2 separate regions of the Homo sapiens genome follow, and region 2 is linked to region 1. Evidence: promoter capture Hi-C in 16 types of primary human blood cells and fetal thymus (Javierre and others, 2016). All regions are on one chromosome and are shown on one strand. The core of a region is centred on a gene start or on the middle of the fragment in contact, and the rest is flanking DNA. Distances in the headings are between cores, read along the strand shown. Region 1 holds the start of RNPS1 (RNA binding protein with serine rich domain 1). Region 2 overlaps CCNF (cyclin F).

The links. Contacts are between HindIII fragments. The CHiCAGO score rates a contact against its expected background, and 5 or more counts as called.
Region 2: a fragment that was not itself captured here is called in contact with the fragment with the promoter of RNPS1 in region 1 in 3 of 17 cell types (erythroblasts, M1 macrophages and endothelial precursors); the score reaches 7.4 in erythroblasts.

The regions. Positions count from the first base shown.
Region 1 is chr16:2,265,906-2,269,448 of GRCh38, reverse strand. RNPS1 (RNA binding protein with serine rich domain 1) reads left to right here and starts at 1,323. Exons shown (of 8, transcript NM_080594.4): 1 at 1,323-1,394. MIR3677HG (MIR3677 and MIR940 host gene) reads right to left here and starts at 786. Exons shown (of 3, transcript NR_132988.1): 1 at 606-786. RefSeq lists a silencer at 676-1,125 and an enhancer at 1,256-1,515. The HindIII fragment of the contact is 12,073 bases long and covers 1-3,543 here.
Region 2 is chr16:2,456,352-2,459,921 of GRCh38, reverse strand. CCNF (cyclin F) reads right to left here. Exons shown (of 17, transcript NM_001761.3): 17 at 1,068-3,377. The coding sequence ends at 2,902. It overlaps LOC105371050 (a long non-coding RNA gene), which reads left to right. Exons shown (of 5, transcript NR_188689.1): 1 at 1-8; 2 at 86-209; 3 at 968-1,112; 4 at 2,956-3,088; 5 at 3,337-3,570. Among named protein-coding and RNA genes, the nearest start is that of TEDC2, 2.0 kb to the left of the region's middle. RefSeq lists enhancers at 205-294, 525-1,339. The HindIII fragment of the contact is 2,703 bases long and covers 1-2,608 here.

The DNA of each region.
Region 1 (3,543 bases), core at 74-2,573:
CCCGCCCTCGGCCGGGGGCGGTGGCTCACGCCTGTAATCCCAGCACTTTGGGACGCCCAGGAGCGAGCACTTTGGGAGGCCAAGGCGAACCTAGGAGCGGATCACGAGGTCAGGAGTTCTCGACCAGTCTGGCCAACATAGTGAAACCCTGTCTCTACCAGAAAAATACAAAAAAAATTAGCCGGGTGTGGTAGTGTGCGCCTGTAATCCCAGCTACTCGGGAGGCTGAGGCAGGAGAATCGCTTGAACCCGGGAGGCGGAGGTTGCAGTGAGCCGAGATCGCGCCGCTGCACTCCAGCCTGGGCAACAGTGCGAGACTCTGTCAAAAAAAAAAAAAAATCCGCCCCGTCAGTGTGGGGAGTTGACGCGGAGCCTCCTGCCTGCACCCCTACAGCGTCACCCCCTCCTCTGTCCCTGCCAGAGGCGCCACCTCTGGACTCTCCCAGGGTCGGACCCTGGTCGACAGTGCTCCCTGCCCGGACCCTGCACCGGCCGATGGATGAAGCCTCGGCGCTGCGCCGTTCACACGCTCCGTGCCGCTGCCGCGAAGCTCGCGCGGGCCTGCGAGCCGGTACCCGGGCCTCCCTTCCCTGCTTCCAGCGAACCTCGGCGCCTGCTGTTCCCCCGCCGGGCGCGCCCTTCCATTCGGGTCTCAGCGGCAGTGTCACCTCCCCGGAGAGGCCCGCCGTTGCACCCCATCTCCCACTCTCAAGCTCGTCGCTCTTCCTGCCCGCACAGCCCGCCTGCCGCGCCCACCCGGTGGAGGTCCGCCTGCCGGGAGGCCGCGTCCACGGGAACACCCCAAACGCCACCAGTGGATTTTGACCGCACGAACGCACGCCCTGCCCCAGCCCGTCTCTCCGAGCTACTTCCGCCCTGCGGGCCCCCACGCCCCGCCACGCACGGCCGCAGAGCCTGCGAACCCCTCCTGTGCTACCACCCCGCCGGCCTCAGCACAGCCCGGCCCGGAGCCCCGCCTCCACCGCCGGCGACAGGGGCCGGAGTCTGCCCGGGCGGGCCCAGTGCGCCCGCGCAAGGAAAGGGGCGGGGCACGGGCGCGTTAACACCCTCCGCGCCGGAGGACGAGCCTCGGTCATCGCGCTGCCCTCCCAGGTTCAACAGGCTACCCATGTGCCCGCTCCAGTAAGCGTGCAACCAGCCCGGTCAGTCCCAGGGACTTTACCGGCTAGGAGACACCTTGAACGTCCCCAGCGCGACTCCCACAAACTGCCTTGACTCTTTAACGCTTCCTCGCTGGCGCCCATTGGGCCAGGCGTTTACGTCATCGCTGCGCGCCGGGCGGCGGCGACTTCCCGCTCCTTGACTCTGACGTCAGAGCGGCGCCGGCCTCGGCGGCTGAGGAAAGCAGGAGGAGGTGGCGGCGGCGGGAAGATGTAAGTTGGGGCGGAATCCGACTGCATCCGTGTTTCGGGGGCTGCCCGGCAGGCCCGGCAGGACGCCTCGTGAAGCCGGTCCACTCCTCAGCCCCGCAGTGCGGCGGTGGCCTGGCAGCGCGGTGCGGGCTCCGAGAAGAAAGAGTGTGGCCCGGGGCGGGCGGAGTGGGAGGTGTCGAGGCCGTGGCCCGGAAGTGGTCGGGGCCGCTGCGGACGGAAGGGCGCCTGTGCTTCGTCCGCTCGGCGGTGGCCCAGCCAGGCCCGCGGGACTCAGACCAGCGGGGAGCGCGGCCTCCGCCCTTGGGGCCCTCCCGCCGGGCCGGAGACCCAAGCCCCCAACGCCAGGCCCTGCCCTGGAAGCGCTCGCGGCCCGGCGCCTGGACGGGGGAGTTGTGAGTGAACGCGGACGGGTAGCGGCGAGGTCGGCGTGTCGGGCCGGTGTCGGCGGGCGCGGAGTTTCTTTGTGGGATGCGGTGGAAGGTCGGCCGATCCCCCCTTCGGAGTCATTAATTCAAACGTGTACTCCGCGAACGTTTCCCGGACTCCCGTGTGCAATTATCGGCGCTAGGCCGTGGGGATACGGCCCACTATGGACCGAGCACGGTGGCCGAGCTCAGTTTGATGGGTTACCCCAGAGGGGCGGATACGGGAAGGTTAAGTTTGTTGGAGGAGAAACGTGGAGTAGGCTTTTTGTCTTGATTCCGCATGAACTGTGCCTGAAATGTACTTTTAAATGGGGAAGGTGCTCTGAAGATTTGTGCCGAAACGCCCTCTCCTCGAGATTTAACTAATTGTTCTCTCCTCTCTCTGGCTGTTGGACGCGCACCTTTCCGGAGGATGGGGGAGGTAACCGAGGTCCTGAGCCGGTACCTGAACTTGGGTGAACAGAGAACCTCAACTTTTGCTTTCTAGCACTCGACCGCACCCAGCAAGGCGTCCGCTTACTCAGTGGTTCTTAGTGTTTGGAGTGCTTAAGAATAACTGGTGGTGTTTGATTTCACCAAGTACATTCGGGCAGATCTTAGTTCTTGGGGGGGTGGGGCTGGAATCTGCGGGTGTGACCTCCACTCTAGGTCTGTGCTGTCCAGCCAAGTAGCCATTGGCCACATGTGGCTGCTAAGCATGTGAAATACAGCTAATCAAGACTGAAATATTAAAACACACACCAGTTTTAGAAGACTAGGAAAAAAGCAAACTTTTATTAGATGTTTATGTTGATTATATGTTGGAAAGATAATATTTTGGATGTGTCAAACGTTAAAAATTAATTTCACCCATTTTTGTGACGTGGCTACTAAGGAATTTCAGGTGATGCTTGTGGCTCCTCACACGGTTTCTATTGGACAGTGCTGCTGCAGGTGATTCGAAGGCGGGTGGGTGCAGGAACCCAGCTGAGAGTTCAGAAATTAGTGTAACTTTGGAGACAAGTGTCTGTGGGGGAAGGAGCCTCCGGACGTGGAGATACAACTCTTGCTCCTAACATTTATCGAGTCTTTAATTAATGCCCTGGGTAACTATAAGGTTGGAACTGTAATTGTCACCATATTGATGATGAGAAACTTGAGAAAGGATAAGTGACTTGTCTAAAATCACACAGTAAAACCTCAAATCAAACCCAGGCCCTCTGGCTCCAGACTCTAAATTATACTCTGAATGATACTCACTGATTGTCCGAGGACACAAAGAGTGTCGAGGCACTATCTGCTGGGTGTCTGCAGAACCTTACTGTTCTAAAGCAAAACATTTTACCCCTGGACAAGAGCAGCAAAGGTGGCGTTCGGCCCTCCTTGGCTCTCATTTGACTGTTCAAAGCCAGGTGCTTTTCTTTCTTGGGTCAGAACGTATTTTCAGCAGCATTTTGAAGCACCCCTGGCGTGCACTGCACAGGGAAACCAGGACCACATTGGTGTGCTGTGTCCTCCTTACCAACTGGCTCTTGGAGAAGGTGAGACAGAAGTAGCTGAGACTCCATTCCTGAGATCTTCACTTAACAACTCCTGCAGCTTGTGCAGAGCCTTACTAGAAATACTGAAGGCAGAAGTCCCTGGAAAATAGGGCCCATAACTAATTAGTAATTTGTTTTTGAGTAATTTGTTACCGTTATTTGAGCACATTCTGCAGTCCAGGCATTTTGCTAAACTCTTACATG
Region 2 (3,570 bases), core at 8-2,507, 190 kb before region 1:
CCAGGGAGGTGACTGCGGGCGACGCCGGGATTTTGGTTTGGGTAACTGGGTAGATGGGGGCGCCATTATCGCGCTTCTCTTGCAGGGGGCCGGTGAAGGTTATACGAGAGGCTCCATCTGTCCTTATTGAAAGTGCTCTTAACGCAGGGACCAGCCGTCTTGCTGACGCCTGGGCCACCGAGCACAGGGACAGGACGGGGTTGCTGGAGGTGAGGATTCCGCGTGTCAGGGGCGGGGATGAAGGAGGAGAAAGTGTTCACTTTTGGACATGTGACGTGATAGCACTGGGCAGAGGGGAGGAAGCTCAGACCTTGGAGCAGTGGGCCAGGCGAGGTGGCCCCTGGTGGGGCAGGGGACGGGTAGGGACAGATCACGGGGCCCACGCAATGGCCAGGGAGGTGGAGGAGCAGTAGGACAGTGTCACAGAGGCAACAGGAGGCTGTCACGGGAGGGAGTGGGTCACAGGCCAAGTGCTGCTGAGGCCTCGGCGGTGTACACAGCACAGCAGGGGGGCGGGGGTACAGGGCCTTCGGTGATGCGGGGGACACCTGAGGGAGGAAGTGAGGAAGGCAGCAGGGCCCCATGTAGTTGGTGTTAACAAGAATAAACAATTAGGGGGCAAGAAATCCCAGGCGGTAGCTGAAAGAAAAACAGAGCCTGGGGTTGCTGTTTAAAGATGGGACAGGTGAGTCCATTCCATAGTCGTTAATGGGAAGGTGCCATCGCAGAGGGGAAGGAGGGCACAAAGGGAGTTGTCAGGGAGGTTGGGACCCAGGCAGCTCTGGCCCAGCGCTCCGGGTGGGCCCCTCCATCAGCGGTGGGGGAGGGTGACGGTGGCCCTGCCTCCCTGGAGATTCTCTGTGAAGGAGGAGGCAGGGAAATGCTCAGTCAGCAGGTGGGTGATGCAGGAACCCACCCACCACAGGCAGGCGGGGCCAGGTCCCCCTGGAGTGGTTTCCTCCTTCAGGTGCAAGCTGGGAGAAAGCAGAGAACTGACTCCATGCAGAGTTGGGATTAAGAGCCCCTGGACAAGGGGCCGAGGCAGTGAAGGACGTCCATCACTCATCTGCCACTATCCTCCTCACATTTAATCCTCACAACACCCCTGTGAGGTAGGTATCATTGCCCCCCTTACAGATGAGGAAACTGAGGCTCACACATGCCCAGGGGCACACAGTCGACAGGACGGGTCTACAGTTCCAACGCTTGGGTTCTCACCCCGACCACACCCCACCCAGGGTGGCCAGAATTCCCTTATAGTAGCAAAAAGACAGCTGCCGCGGACATGAACACACATAGCACCAGCACACATAAAAGCAGCAGCTCAGTGAGCATCTCCCATCCCTGGGTTTCCGGTTCAAGAGCATTTGGGGGCCAGGCGCCGTGGCTCATGCCTGTAATCCCAGCACTTTGGGAGACCGAAGTGGGCGGATCACTTGAGGTCATGAGTTCGAGACTAGCCTGGCCAACATGGTGAAATCCCGTCTCTACCGAAAATACAAAAATTAGCTGGGCGTGGTTGGGTGCTTGTAATCCCAGCTACCCAGGAGGCTGAGGCAGGAGTATCCGGGAGGCGGAGGTTACAGTGAGTTGAGAGTTGAGATCATGCCACTGCACTCCAGCCGGGGAGACAAGAGCAAAACTGTCTCCAAAAAAAAAAAAAAAAAAGCATCTGGGGGACACTTCTGGCCAAGTGGTTCTTTCTTACATTTGCAGAGTAAACAGAAGTGGATGGCAGCAGGGTGTGTTGTGGTCAGCCCGTTCCCAGGGAGAGGCCATGGTCACATGGCCCCAGGCAGGCTCCCCAGGCGTGGGCTGCTGGCTCCCAGGCTCCCTTTCCATGCAGGAGCAGAGTCTCCGTGGCCAGCAGGAAAGCCCAGGGGTCTGCCTCCCTCCCACGGGCCCCCACAGCAGAGCTGCAGTTGGGATCAGCCAGGACACGGCCCCCGACTGCTCTGCTCTTCTGCCTCTTGGTCACCTCAGATGTTACAGAGGACTTGAAGTTTTTTCTGGCTAGCCTATCTGGGAAAATTCTTTTTGCATAAAGTGTGTCAGGATGGCATTGAGGGGCTGGAGTAAGATTTTTGTTTTGCAGGTGAACCTAAATAATGGTGGGAATCTCTTGTTTTTTTAATACCTTCTGTTTTAAGTTTTTCTTTTGTTTTCATCTTGGAAGAAGGAAATTTAGAAATAAGACAGGAAAAGAATGGCCCAGAAATTCAGCACAAAGAGAGGTGTTCACATTGACGCCATCTGTGGGTCACATACGAACGCCTCTGGGACAGAGCTCTAAAACGAGTCACGTGTCGTAGGGAGTGGGCCTGTGGCCAAGGCAGTCCTCGCAGTGTGCAGGGACGCAGGCCCCCTTACCATGGAAGCCCCACCCAGAAGGAAGTGGGTGCCCCATGCAGGCCGAGGTGGATGAGGGGACAGTGGTGTGCTCACAGCTGTCAGCTCCCCACTGAAGCCCCAAACCAGCAGATGTGGGCAGGGGCTCAAGTGGTGTCTGACTACCCAGGTCACACGTGCCTTAAGCGTGAAAGCTGTCAGCTCCCGGCACGGGGCTCTGGTGGGGCTGGGAACACCAGGACACACATGGGCTGAAGCTTCCAGAGACAGTGAGACACGGAAGGGACAGAGAGGTGCCCTCCACACAGTGTGGCCAACTGCTTCCAGGCTAAACTTTCCAAAGAGAGGGATCTGAGCTCTTCACCCTCATTTCAACATTCTGATGGCTTGCACGGGACTCCCGCGGAGACAGAAACTTGGTGGCCGCAAGTCATCCTCTCTGCTCTCTGCGCAAAGGCCTCCATGGTCTATGCAGCGTTCCTATGCTATGCTCCCACCCTTCGCCTCCAGCCCCCTCAGTACACATCCACTGCGGCAAATGTGCTGACACACTTACAGCCTCACAAGGCCCAGGTTCATGTCCTCCTCCTCACTGTGTATGCATAGGTTTATCCGCTTCACCTGTTGCTGGGGAACACTGCTCTCCGGGGGACTTGGGGGACGACACTGTAAACATGACTTCCTGGCCTGATGGTGGCAGGGCTGTGTGTGCGAGTCACTGTCCAGGGACAGCACTGAGGTAGGTTGGGGCAGGGCCCCCAAGCCACCGTCCACGGAGCTTGTGGGACTTGCGGTGCTGACGGAGGAGTACCCTGAGGTCGTGACGTCCTTCCCTGGCTCCCGGCTGGTGCGGACCAGGGGTTTGGGTCCAGGGGTTGCAGGGATCTGGGTGTCCAGCGCCAGTGCCTGTGGGTCCTGGGGTCCCTTGTCCTCTGGACAAGCCTCCTCATCACTGGATTCCTGGCAGCAATGCTGTTCTGGGTTCAGGTAGACCACGGTGACATCGAGGATGCCGCTGGGAGCTGTCACTGCAGGAAGGTTGGTGGGGAGGGAAGTCATGTCACACCCAAGCATCAGGGGAGACCCCCTGCCAGGTCAGGACCCTGAAGTCCAGGTCAAGAATCTTCTACCTTGCTACGGTCCCCTGTGTTACCCTCCTGTGGTGAGAAGCGTGGGTGACATGCCTCTTCCAAGTTGGACAGCTGCCCGCCATGACTCCAA